Linked DNA regions of Homo sapiens: region 2 is linked to region 1. Evidence: promoter capture Hi-C in 16 types of primary human blood cells and fetal thymus (Javierre and others, 2016). All regions are on one chromosome and are shown on one strand. Each heading gives the region's core, a stretch centred on a gene start or on the middle of the fragment in contact. The rest is flanking DNA. Distances are from core to core; before and after follow the strand shown.

Evidence for each region. Contacts are between HindIII fragments. The CHiCAGO score rates a contact against its expected background, and 5 or more counts as called.
Region 2: a fragment that was not itself captured here is called in contact with the fragment with the promoter of SAMD7 in region 1 in 1 of 17 cell types (total B cells); the score reaches 5.5 in total B cells.

What each region holds. Positions count from the first base shown.
Region 1 is chr3:169,909,422-169,913,338 of GRCh38, forward strand. It overlaps SAMD7 (sterile alpha motif domain containing 7), which reads left to right and starts at 2,151. Exons shown (of 9, transcript NM_001304366.2): 1 at 2,151-2,400. The HindIII fragment of the contact is 322 bases long and covers 1,997-2,318 here.
Region 2 is chr3:170,849,676-170,853,592 of GRCh38, forward strand. No RefSeq gene overlaps it. Among named protein-coding and RNA genes, the nearest start is that of RPL22L1, 19 kb to the right of the region's middle. The HindIII fragment of the contact is 2,377 bases long and covers 843-3,219 here.

The DNA of each region.
Region 1 (3,917 bases), core at 901-3,400:
CTGATCACATTTTCCAGAGAAACAGAAATATAAATGGTGGCTCTATGTTGGAATGAGTACCGCTGTTACACTGTTAGATTGATGTTTATGGGCTGGTGCAAACCTAATTACTCCTTATGATGTTGCTTCTATGAAAACAATACATTTATAAGTTTCTGTTGAACAATGTATAAGCAAGTCTTTCAGATACAAGCTCTTCTAATATGAGACTACCAGAGTGATTACAAACAAAGTATATGCATTAGGGCGGGGCGCAGTGGCTCACACCTGTAATCCCAGCACTTTGGGAGGCTGAGGTGGGCAGATCACAAGGTTAGGAGATCGAGACCATTCTGGCTAACACGGTGAAACCCCGTCTCTACTAAAAATACAAAAAAAAAAAAATTAGCTGGGCATGGTGGCGGGCGCCTGTAGTCCCAGCTACTCAGGAGGCTGAGGCAGGAGAATGGCGTGAACCCGGGAGGTGGAGCTTGCAGTGAGCTGAGATCACGCCACAGCACTCCAGCCTGGGTGACAGAGTGAGACTCTGTCTCAAAAAAACAAACAAACAACAACAACAAAAAAAAACAAAAACTGTATGCATAAATATTATAAATGCTAATAATTTATGAGACACTTCAAAATGCATATACAACACAAGAAAGACAGTTTAGTAAAAATTAGGGCAAAGGGAAAATAATGTTAGGAAAAATAAGATGAAGCCATAGATCATTTCTGGTTTTAAAATGCATGTCTAGGCTGGGCATGGTGGCTCACGCCTATAATCCCAGTACATTGGGAGGCCGAGGTGGGTGGATTGCTAGAGTCCAGGAGTTCAAGACCAGCCTAGGCAACATGGCGAAAGCCTGTCTCTACAAAAAAATACAGAAAAAAAATTAGCCAGGCATGCGGTCGTGCACCAGTGGTCCCAGCTACTTGGAGGCTACGGTGGGAGGATTGCTTGAGTCTGGGGACATAGAGGCTACAGTGAGCCATGATTGTGCCACTGCACTCTAGCCTGGGTGGCAGAGCAAGAACTTGTCTCAAAAATAAATAAATAAAAATATAATAAAATGCATGCCTAAAGGCAGGTCCTGAACTTCCTACTAACCAACACAAAGAATGCAACACACTAGTTACGTGATTCCTGAGGTTTTATTTTGGCCTTATTTTTCAGAACAACAACAACAACAATAACAACAACAAAACAATTGTCCCTAGTACTACAAGCTGAGAAAAATTCCTCCCATGGATCCTCAACAGAGGACTCTGTGCAATATAGTTACCTAACATAATGGCTAATGTTTAGTGAGAACTATTCAAGCATTTTGTCTACCTTGTTGCCTTCCCTTTCCCAAGAAGGGCTCTTCTGAGATGAGGAAACTAAGGCTCAGAGAAGTTCAGTAACTTGGCCAGGCCATACAGCTAATGAGTGGTGGTGCTGAGGCTTATTGAGTCTGTTGGTCATCTAAGTCCCTGCTGTTGACCACTGCTTTATGAACAATAACCCTGGAATAAATACAGTCAGTTCCACATGCTATTTCTTATAATGAGTTCAACAGCCAATGATAAAAATGTGTGTCAACAAAGGAGCAGGTTACCTTCAAACTGGAAGCCTAAAGCATTACTTGAAACACAACTTAAATTTCTTATATTCAATTCTTATTTTGTACTTCCTACTAGTAAATTACTAGGAATCAAAAAATATGGATGTTCTTTTTCAAGCTATAAATGTTTCTCTAGCAAATATAACAGGTCACATTTTCAAAATTCCGTGTTTTCCCTCTTATATAGATCACAGCTCTCACACAGATGATAAAGGGTTTTCTCACTGCCTGTGAGAATTAAAGTACAGTTGTCCATTATAGAAGCTTCTTTTTAAAATAGACTGCCATCTTTCATCAAATGTTTCAGCTCTGTGGAAAATAACTTAGGTTTTTTCCTACTCGCAAAAGAAATGTTTCCACTTGAAACCTGTTGGAAATATGGAATAGGCTATATAGTTCCATCAAAGAAAAGCTTATTACTTATTTGCATAGTATATTTCTTTTGTGTCAAGTTGAACAGTGGTATTAAGTGAATGCCCACAAAGCATCTTAAAGGCTAAGGAAGGATTACACTAAAGGCTAAGCTCTGAGACAGGTTTATGCACCTTGCAGGGCACTTTCCTTGGGCTTAACATCTTTTAGCCTATCTGTAGAGGATATCAGAGGGCAAAGTTTCTGTCATGAAATAGGACTAATCAACTTAGTTGAATTTGTATTTAAAGCAAGGTTAAACTGAATTAAGACCATTTTTGAAAGAATTGTCAGATGTACCTTTCAACCCGCAGCCAGAGAAGCTTCTGCAGTTGAAGGCCAGAAAGTCTTTGTATGGTTCTTCCATCTGCAATATCAAAGACAAGAAGTCTTCATAGAGGATGTAAGTATGTAACTCTACACATTGATTAGCCCAAAATTGAGGCCAGTTACTCTGAGTAAAATGTTTCACATATAAAATAAAAGGACATCTTTATCTTAAAGGAAATGCTTAGGTTTATGTGTAGACTTTACTGGCTATTACTAACAGTATGTGAGCTAATAAATTCCTACTTGACTGAAGTTACTAACGAGTAAAGATGATATACCACTCCTACCAAATAAACACTGCCTGGTCTTAGTTTTTGGAGTTTTTTAAGTGAAAGTAAAATGAAGTTTATTTAAGATAAAGTCAGTTCAAAGTTGTATGTAAATTTACTGTAGTTTTATTATCTTCAAACAGATGAAGTACCTACCTCTATGTATTACTGCTGTTTATTTACTATATATTATTATTTTAATGGCCCCCCATTACTATAGATATCTATATTCCAAAAATTGTCATGATGTATGAACCATGAAATGTCAGAGTAGAAAATTTCAGAAAAACATTGAGGAACAATCAATGATAATCATGAAATAAAATCTATATTGATATTCCTTAATTCATTCTTTAAGACTATCTAACTAAAACACCTACTATTCAGTTCCATTATATGAGTACTGCTAGAATTTCACTTTAGTCTCTACAGATTTATATATAATGGACTTTGCTTCACAATCTTTTGAAGAAAGTGAACATAATTTATACAAACTGTAGTTGCACATAAATTATATTGAGTCCAGTAGAAATTACATAATTTTGACTTCTTTAATGATGTCAAAGGTTTACCTTTTTCTTTACAATACTTGTAATTGTGCCTAGAACCTGACATTTCAAGAAGACATGGATAGGTCTAATGAAAATGAGCTTCCAGAGTAAAAAGAAATAAGAAGTGACAGCAGCCAGCACGTAACCCACTGTCTTCAATGCTTTCCAGGGTATGTGCTATGGTGAAATGCAGTTAGAAAAGTCCTAAAGCTTATGCCTTTAGGAAAAGTGAAATACATTTTAGCAGCACTGCCAAGTGCTTCGGTATGAACTGTCTTTCTAAAGTTCTCCTCCGTCCTTGGCAGAGATGGGAAGGGGAGCAAGATATGGAGGGACCCAGGAGAAGGCCTATTTGGGTTGTGCTCAGAGAGAGTTGGAGGAGATGGACTACAAAGGCCTCTGCAAAACATAAGTAGGAGGAATTACTTTGGAGTTGTTGGGGTACTGCCTAAGAGAAGGCCAAGAAAACTCGCAAGAAGCCAGGCCTGAATTGTAAAAATTGCTCTCATTTTAATTTAAGAATTTACATCTATTTATCTTACATTTATTTATCTCAGAACTGTGGAAACATTTAATTCTACTGATCTACTTTTCACATACAAAAACTTACCAGATACAGCAGTTACTTAAAAATTAATTCATTTTAATGTATGTAATCAGAAAACATGCATCATACATACCATAAATATTCTACATACGATTAGTCAAATATAGGGTTTTCCAAACTCAAATTGCACTGATTTTAATGAAAGATCACAGTATAGCCAATA
Region 2 (3,917 bases), core at 781-3,280, 940 kb after region 1:
AATGACATCAAATCAGAGATATGAATTGTCCTCACTTCTGAGAATCTGACCTCCAGGTTCAAATTATAGTCTATTTTATCTCCATTTTTCTTTCACCCCTCTCTCCATTTCATCATCAAATCCTGTTAGTACTTTTTGTAAGCTCAATGACAGCAGAGCATGGGTCTATCTTGTTCACTGCTGCAGTCCTAGCCCTGAGCATCATGTTGGCTCATGGCAAGCACTCTATACGTATATGCAAAATTAAGCAAATGAAGTCAGGTTCTCTTGCATCCATCCACTCCTTCATCTCAAGACTAAACCCTCAATTCCTCCTGCCTGGGTAACCATTCAAGTCTCTTTGCTAATTTTCTTTGATGATTTCCTAGGGTTTCCCCCACACCAGACATCAGTCTCTTTCAACTAATATATTTTACATGTTACTTTCAGCCTTCATCATTTCATTCCCCAACATACACATCTCTGTTTCAATTTCTTCCTTACTCTCACTCCACTCTAATTTTTCAAACTTTTCCTCCAATGTTCCCCATACCCTTCCACTCATGCCATGTACTATAGCTCTATTTCCTCCTGCTCATACCTTTCTGCTTTGAAGAAGTGGAAAAAACAGGCTGTGGAATCAGACCAATTGCAAGTGGTTCCAATTCCAGCTTTGCTATTTAGTCATTCTGAGTCTCAATTACTTCATTTATAAAATGTATCAGTAGAAAATAAGATAATATATTTAAAGCACCTGGTGCTACATCTTGTGCATAGTACTGAACCAACCCTTTATAGTCTCTCTGTCAGCACCACACAATCTTGATTACTATAGCCATTTTTCACACCATTTAGAAGAGAAAAGCTTTAATTCTAGAAGTACTTAAGTAGACATTCTGCTATACTAATTTTATACACAAATAAGCTGTGTCTTCCTTGTTTAAGGTATTTGAGTAAGAACAGTTATAATCAAAGGTCAATTTATCCTGAATTTATTTTAAAGATACCTCCCTCTTGAGGGCATTACTATATATGACTCAGTATACTGTGAACTTGAGCACCGTGATATATATATTACTGGGTGGAAATGGAGGTAAACTAGTACAGACATCTTGGAGGACAATTTGGCAACATCTATTAACATTTAAAAACCCATGAGCATAAAGACTGTACAAAAACTGTACAAAAACTGTAAACTGCCTAAATTTCCAGCACTAAGTGACCAGGCAAATAACACACAGTAAAACACACAATAAAATAACATGTTACTACTAAAAATGGAAAAATCTATATATACTTACATGGATTATATCCAAGACATATCTGCATAGACATACTTGTACACACATAAAATAAAAATACCTTCAGATGAATGCTGGTAATAGTCATTGTCTTTGAGAGAAGAAACGGGTCAGTAGGCTTCAGGGAAAGGAAGGAATACTTTTCACTGTGTACTCTTTTACAATAGAAACTGATTTTTAAACCACCTATATGCATTATATATGCATATATAATATTTAAATTATATATAAAATTTTTGAAATAGGACTTACACATAGAAAGTGAACAAATCATAAGTGTTAAGAACATCTTTTTAATAAAGTTAACATACCCACCTACAAAACACTCATATCAAGGAGAAAAGCATTACCAGTATATGTTTACAGGAAAATTCTGGTATTAATTTACCTTTACTACTTCAGTATGTATATCAAAACAAACTAAAAAATAACAGTAATATCATAATCACACTGAGTAAAATGAACAATAGTTAGGTTTTAGAATATGTAATGCTTATATTTTTTAATACCCAGTTCATGTTCAATTATCTTTGCTTATCTCAAAAATATCTATTTGCATTTGGTTTGTTTGGATCATTTTCCAAAAAGTCCCCATATTACATATGGTGATTTTTCTCTTAAATCTCTTTTGTTCTATAACTGGCCCACCCTCTTCTGTTAATGCTATTTCTTTGTCATTGGAGAAACTGGTCATTTATCTTGTAGAATCTCTTACATTCTGGAATGGCTGATTAAATCCTCCTGGTATCATTTAATATGTTCTTTACCCACTGCATCTTTTGTAAACCATCAGTTAGATCTAGAAACTCATATGCTTTCTTGAGTTGGTAAATAAAAGTACTCTATGATCCACTACATTTGAGCAAAGCTACATATTTGGGGGAACCGATGCATGGAGAGTCACAAAGACCTGAAAAATTCCCAAAGCAAATAAATGTTTAGTTTGCTTAACTGTCCATTTCCCATGTGTTATTTTGTTGTTACTGTACTACTTACTATGTTCACATGGAACTACAGTCCTGTTTTATGCACTTTGATAAACACTGGAGCAAAAGATCTGTATGGTCTTCTCAAAATCCTATGACTTTTCATGGTATGAGACATATTGGCTGGGCACAATGGCTCACTCCTGTAATCCCAGCACTTTGGGAGGCTGAGGCAGGAGGATCCTTGAGCCCACAAGTTCAAGACCAACCTGGGGGATATAGCGAGACCTCATCTCTACAAAAAAAAAAAAAAAAGAGAGAGAGAGAGAATAAAAATTAGCTGGGTTTCATGGCACATACTTGTAGTCCCAGCTACTTGGGAGGCTGGGGTGGGAAGATCCTTGAGTCCAGGAAGTGAAGGCTGCAGTGAACTGTGATCTGCACTCTAGCCTGAGTGAGACAGCGAGACCCTGTTTCAAAAAAAAAAAAAGAGAGACAGAAAGAGACATACTGCAGATGCTCATAAAAGTTCGCTGATTGATTAATCCAGCAGTCACGTGTTGTGTTTTCTATTTATAGTGTACTGTACTCGAAACCACTATTCCTGTCCTTAAGAAATAAGATTGAGTTGATAAATCAGCATGTGTTCAGGCAATAAACTCACATGCTTATTTAAAGCATATGGCAGTTTAAAAAAAAAATCCACTGTATGTGTTGTGGATTTATGGAGTGGCCTGTTGGGTTTCATGAGGAAAGCTCCAAAAGAGAGGTCAGCCTTGGAGTACATCAACAAGCATTCACAGCAAGTCAGACCTGGAAACACACACACACACACACACACACACACACACACACACACACACACACAGAGCGAGAGAGAGAGAGAGAGACAGAGAGAGAGAGAGAGAGAAACAGAAATCTGCTGGTTTAATCTCTTAATTTATAGAAAACAGGAAGCCTAAGGACAGGAAAGGATTCTTATAGCTGATGAGACCCAGACATTCCTGCTGGTAAGCTTAGTGCACTCCCTTAGTAGGTCCAATTCAAGATTATTTTTTTGTAGGTAAACTGTTTTGTTTTGTTTTCTCTTCCCTCTGGAAGCTTTTGGGATTTTCTTTTTATCCTTTGGAGTACTGAAACTTCTTCAGGAAGTTATGAGCTTTTCCCTTCATCCTACCTGGCCTACCTCGCAATATGAGGATCCAGATTTTCTTGGGCGGAGGGAAACTTTCTTCTGCTACTTGCATATCTGTCCTGGGTCACTTGTTTTAATTTGTTCATTCCAATCATTTTCTTTGATACTGTTGGTTCTACTCATTTTGAGTGAACCTTGGTTGCCTTTCTACATTTATGAATGAAAGGTAATGTTACTAATTATCTGACTTGGGATTCTTTTGTAGTTATATGGATTTGCTTACCCAGAAAGGCACACAGAGATAAATTTGACCTGGTTTTTAGCCTCGAAGTATTTACAGTCTAGTGAGGGAGGAAAACAAATAAACCAAAAATTCTGTCAAAGTGTCAGAATGTTTATGATATAGCTTAAACAAAAAGGCAGTGGTATTAGTTTGTGTACCAGGGAATTCCAAGGTGTGTACCTCCTCCAACTTCAATAGGCTGCCTCTGGCTTCTCTGGGGTTGGCCTTGAAATGAGCAGGGTCTGGGAGGCAAAAGGAAGGGACAGAAAAGGTCTGTCTCCACCACTACAGTT